Regions from separate parts of the Homo sapiens genome. Here region 2 is linked to region 1. The links are contacts of gene promoters, found by promoter capture Hi-C in blood cells and fetal thymus (Javierre and others, 2016). All regions are on one chromosome and are shown on one strand. Each heading gives the region's core, a stretch centred on a gene start or on the middle of the fragment in contact. The rest is flanking DNA. Distances are from core to core; before and after follow the strand shown.

Region 1 (2,751 bases), core at 73-2,572:
GGCCCGTCCGGAGTTGTTTGTTCCTGCCTGTGGGTTCGTGGTCTCGCTGACTTCACGAATGAAGCTGCAGACCTTTGCAGTGAGTGTTACAGCCCTCGAAGGTGGGGCATACGGAGTTGTTCATTCCTCCCAGTGGGTTCGCAGTCTCCCTGACCTCAGGAGTGAAACTGCAAACCTTTGTGGTGAGTGTTATAGCTCATAAGGATAGTGCGGACCCAAACAGTGAACAGCAGCAAGAGCTACTGCAAAAAGCAAAAGCACAAAGCAACCACAACCTGGAAGGAGACCCCAACTAGGGGCCACTACTGGCGCCGGTGTCCAGCTTTTATTCCCTTATTTGGCCCCACCCTCATCCTGCTGATTGGTCCATTTTACAGAGTGCCAATTGGTCCATTTTACAGAGTGCTGATTGGTCCCTTTTTAAAGAGTGCTGATTGGTGCATTTACAAACGTTTAGCTAGACACAGAGCGCTGATTGGTGCGTTTTTACAGAGTGCCGATTGGTGTGTTTACAAACCTTTAGCCAGACACAGAGCACTGATTGGTGCATTTACAATCCTTTAGCTAACAGAAAAGTTCTCCAAGTCCCCACCTGATTAGCTAGACACAGAGGGCTGGCTGGTGTATTTACAAACCTTTAGCTAGACACAGAGCGCTGATTGGTGCATTTACAATCATTTAGCTAGACAGAGAAGTTCTCCAAGTCCCCAACCGACCCACCCGGCTTCATCTCTCAGCTTTACATTGATTTTAGGTTAAGGATAGAACAAAACAAAACACCCACAACTCCTTAAGGGATGGAGAGCCTCCAATGGCCTCTCCTTGACTCACCTGAAGCCCTGGGCTGCAGGAACCTCACCTGTCTCTATTCGTTAAAGTCTCAGCTCAAACACCACTGTCCCAGATAGGCCTCGTGACCGCAGGACTAGACCACGGTTCTCTGCGGAGGGCGTCAGCTCCGTGAGCCACCCTTCCAGCACCCACTGCCATGGCGAATATTTGCTTGTTTGGCCATCCAGGGACTGTTTGAGCCCCAAGACCGCAGGGCTCGGGGTCTGTCTTTGCTCAGGACGATAACCTGGGGACTGGACAGTAGGCCCTCAGGCCTTGGGACCGCTCAAAGTGAACCGGGGCCGGGTGGGGGACCCAGGGCTCTGCAGCCTTAAGAACGCCTGTGCCCCCGGGACGCAGGGGTCAGGCCCGGCCCGGCCCAGACCGCCTCTGCCTCCTCCTCCTTTTCCTCCCCGCGCCCGCTTCTCCTCTGACCCCTCCTCCCGCTGCTCCTCCTCCGCCTCCTTCCCCTGCCCGCGCCCGCCCTACTGCCCCGTGCCGAGTTTCCTGTTTAAGATGGCGTCCCCCGTAGCAGCGCAGGCCGGGAAGCTTCTGCGAGCCCTAGCGCTGCGGCCCCGCTTCCTGGCGGCCGGGTCCCAGGTGAGCGTGGGGGCAGGAGCTGCGGGCGCCAGCAGCGGCGCCGGCCTGCCCGGGCTTCCCTCGCCCCCTGCTACTCTTGGTCTCCGCCTGACCCCCTGCGCGGCCCCTCGGGCGCCCCACTTCGGGAGGTGACGCGGCGCCGGGTCCAGGCGCAGCAGGGAACCCCGCTCCAGTGTGGGGCAGGGGCGGCGCGGCGGCAGCCCCGGGTGCCTCGGGGTATGAGCGACCCAACGCACTAGAGTCTCCGCTGTCTGCCCGCGCAGACTCATGGCGAAGGCGCTGAAGCAGGCGCTGGACGCAAGTTTAAGAAAAGTTTCTTGGACCGGGTTTTGGAGCCCTGAGGTTTTATTGTCAGCTCTACTAATTCTGCTTTTCAAACTTCTGGCACTAACCCTGAGCACGTTTAGACCACGTGATAAACATGCCTGGAAACCCGTTTCAGCCCAACTAGGAACTCACCCCCTAGGGTGAACTTCCTGCAGGCTACCTGCTTTTGCAGACTTTTAATGTGCCTGAGTTGGTCAAATCCGTGGGTCAAGGAGAAAAATGGGAAACGATCTTTCTCCTCTTTCCAATGAAAAATCAGGGCTGTCACTAAAACGCATTAGACCATTGACCCTGTCCATGTCCTCCTTGTTGATGGAGAATGAAATCAAAGAGGGTCAGTGGTGGGCTGGATAGCGATTGGAACTTGGCCTCTAGCAGATTTTTACCTTCTGCAGATGGCAAGCGTTAAAATAGTCAGAAGGACTTCAGGAAAGTTTTGAGTTGGTGATGACTCTTGTAGAAATCACTCAACCACTGAACTGGTTAGTCTCCGTAGACTATCTCTCTTCCCTTTTAAAGAAAGCACAGTCTGGGATTCAGCCACAGCAGAGTTAATGACCTTGCCTATTTCCCCATTTTTAATTGATGAGAGGCAAATTATCACTCATACAATTTTAACCAGGATGTGCATAGTATAGTTTTTTAGAAAATTTAAAAAATAGTGATTAATGATTTTTTGAGTTCCTCTAAACTTTGGTTATGACATCTGTGAGCTATTTTTACCCCTCTCCTTTCATTTCCTGCCTCCCCATTTCTCTGTTATTGTTAATGTAAATTTAAAAGGTGCTAATACTTACTACTGTAATATTCTTAATAGGTGCTTGACAGTATAGTGAGGTAGCAAAAGGAATGGCAGTTTTGTCTAATTAAAACTCACTAATAACTGTTGTAATAGAGTAAGGAGAATAGCTCTAGGAGATGAAGTCCTATTCATTATTTAAGTGTTAGAAAAAACAAGAACTAGGGTGCTTACCATGAGTGTAGACTTGAATT
Region 2 (2,751 bases), core at 162-2,661, 400 kb before region 1:
TATCTGGCTTAATAATGTTTCTTTTATTGATTGGCTGTCTTATCTTCACTGTATCATATTAAAGCGTTTTGCATCTCCAAAATAAACCTGGATCTACCTCAGGATCTAATTCTGGAGTAATTACACAGTTGAAACTTGGGTGACCACCCATCTGGTTTGGTAAGGACAGAGGGTGTTCCTGGGACATGGGACTTGCAATTTTAAAACCAAGACAGTCCCAGGAAAAGCATTTCAAATTTGCCTAGAACTTGTAGCTTTTCAGGATGTGGGACTTTCAGTACTAAAACCTGAGAACTCAGGTTGGAACTCAAAGTGGTCCTAGGAAACAGATCTCTAGAATTGGTCTTTGCAGCTAGAAACTAGCAAAATGGCAACAAAATTACCATTGCTAGTCACGAGTGGAATGGTGTGCTATGAAATCATAACTGCTGAGACTCTTACCTAAGATTGAATTGGGATGGGGCACAGCTGGAAGAGGATGCACTAGCTTATGCAATTTCTCTAGCACTTGAGAGATAGGGTGGCATTGGCCATTGGAAAGATTATGGAATTGGATAGTTGGACCAAGTACCATCAATGAGCTGAAAGAAGAAAATGACAGGCTCAAGTGAGCTGAACACCAACCCAGGGTTCAGTATGGAAAGCCAGAGGCCTCTCCGGCATCATTTAAAGAGACTCTCATCTTCTGCAGGCAGAGAAAAGATCAGGCTGAAAATCGGGGCTAGGACCTGATGTGAGAGAACTGTCTAGAGTGTTGAAGCAACAGCCCCAGCCAACATTCTAAGGCAGAGCATAGATAAAGAAGATGGAAAACCCTGAGATATGTCCAGGGAAAGGGACATCTGTGTAAATGCACTCCAGACTCTTGAACTCTCAGATTCTCCTTAACCCTCTGAGACTTCAGAAGTTATCTACATCTTATTCTTAGAATATAGCATCCTTTCCTTGCTGGGAGACCAAGCAGAAGCTTCACCTAGGAGGCAGCCTTGGGAGATGATACTTGCCTTCCTCAAGATCTGTCCCCACGTTCTAATATGGCTTGAGTAAGGAAGCACTTACTCTGCTTCAAGAAGTAAAGAATTATTTAATAACTGTGTTTCAAGTTCTGGTTAATAGGTAGCTACCGAAACTAGGAAAACAGGTGTGGCAGTGAACTTTGAGAGTTCTGTACCCTTGGGGTAGGGGAAGGGAGCAAAATATAGTGCTGGGTAATGGAGTTTATTGATATGGAGGCATTCACCATACAAGGCAAACAAAGAATCAAACCATCCCACCTCTTGCCCCCCGCATACATACACACACATGAGTATCTACCGATGACACTTAAGAGTTGGATTATAAATTCCTCTGCTCCTCAGCCCTTAGGTGAGGTGTTTCTGAGTTGTGTGCTTTACAGATTTCCCAGAGTTTCTTCAGGGGATTAAGTTTCTATCACGCACTATGGCAGGTGGCTTGGTAATTAACTCTTTTTTGACTGCCTTCCCTTTCCTTTCATACTTCCCCACTCCTGTTCATGTTTTCTTACCATCCAAATAAGATGCCTCCACCAAAACAACTGCCTGAAGGTCTGCTTGTGGGAGACCCTAAACCAAGGCATAGAGGTACATATCTCATTATAAAAACTTCAGAGCATAGTCTACCCCAAATAAATAAAAGACAAACATACGTAGTACTAGATTAAGAAATTGAGGATCATAAACTTGTCTAATAATGTAACTAGTGCTATAACCTTAGATCTTAAAATAGTGTCTGGCAAATGGTAGCTACTTGTTAACTGTCTGTTAAATAGATGAATAAACAAATGAATGAATAATATTAACCCCAATCAATTAAACTCAGAGGTTGGCAAAGCTTTGCCTGTAAAGCACCAGATAGTAAACAGTTTAGGCCTTGCAGGCCATACAGTATGTGCTATGACTATTCACCTCTGCTGTTGTAGTGTGAAAGCAGCCATGGACAATATGTAATGAATGAGTGTACCTGTGTCTCAAGAAAACTTTATTCACAAAAACAGCACATCAGATTTGGTCCACAGGCCACATGTCTTCTTAGTCTATTTTGTATTGCTATAAAGGAATAGCTAAGGCTGGGTAATTTATAAAGAAAAAAGGTTTATTTGGCTTGTAGTTATGTTGCCTAGAAGATTGGGCATCTAATAAGGGCCTCAGGCTGCTTCCACTCACAACAGAAGGTGAAGGGGAGCTGGAGTGAACAGATCACATGGAGAGAGAGGAGGGGAGGTGCCAGGCTCCTTTTAACAGCCAGCTATGGTGGGAACTAATAGAGTGGGAACTCACTCACTACCCTCCCTACTCCCCTGACCCCTGGCTCCCAAAGGGAAGACATTCATCTACTCACAAGAGGTCCATCTCCATGACCCAAGCCCCTCCCACTAGGCCTCATCTTCCAACACTGGGGATCACATTTCAATGTGAAATTTGGAAGGGACAAGCATCCAAACTATAGCAACATAGTTTGCCAATTGCTAGTGCACATAAAAATTAAAACTTCATATCTGTGAAGGGGAGTCCAGAAAACTTGTGATTTCTCTGATGGCTATTTTGATACTTTTTAAAATGTAAAAGTAGGTCAGTCATGGTGGCTCATGCTTGTAATCCCAGTGCTTTGAGAAGCCAAGGTAGGAGGATCACTTGAGGCTGGAAGTTCAAGATCAGCCTGGGCAATATAGTAAGACCTCATCTCTACAAAAAAATTTAAAAATTAGCCAAGTGAGATGGTGCTTGCTTATAG

The links. The method cuts DNA at HindIII sites, captures the fragments that hold promoters and counts their contacts. A CHiCAGO score of 5 or more calls a contact.
Region 2: a contact is called between a fragment that was not itself captured here and the fragment with the promoter of SUCLG2 in region 1, in 2 of 17 cell types (non-activated CD4 T cells and total CD8 T cells). The highest score is 6.1, in non-activated CD4 T cells.

The regions. Positions count from the first base shown.
Region 1 is chr3:67,653,183-67,655,933 of GRCh38, reverse strand. It overlaps SUCLG2 (succinate-CoA ligase GDP-forming subunit beta), which reads left to right and starts at 1,322. Exons shown (of 11, transcript NM_003848.4): 1 at 1,322-1,431. The coding sequence starts at 1,348. It overlaps SUCLG2-DT (SUCLG2 divergent transcript), which reads right to left and starts at 1,237. Exons shown (of 7, transcript NR_109992.1): 1 at 832-1,237. RefSeq lists an enhancer at 1,016-1,515 and a silencer at 1,031-1,710. The HindIII fragment of the contact is 5,512 bases long and covers 1-1,382 here.
Region 2 is chr3:68,053,841-68,056,591 of GRCh38, reverse strand. All of the region lies in intron 2 of TAFA1 (TAFA chemokine like family member 1), which reads right to left. Among named protein-coding and RNA genes, the nearest start is that of TAFA1, 51 kb to the right of the region's middle. The HindIII fragment of the contact is 884 bases long and covers 970-1,853 here.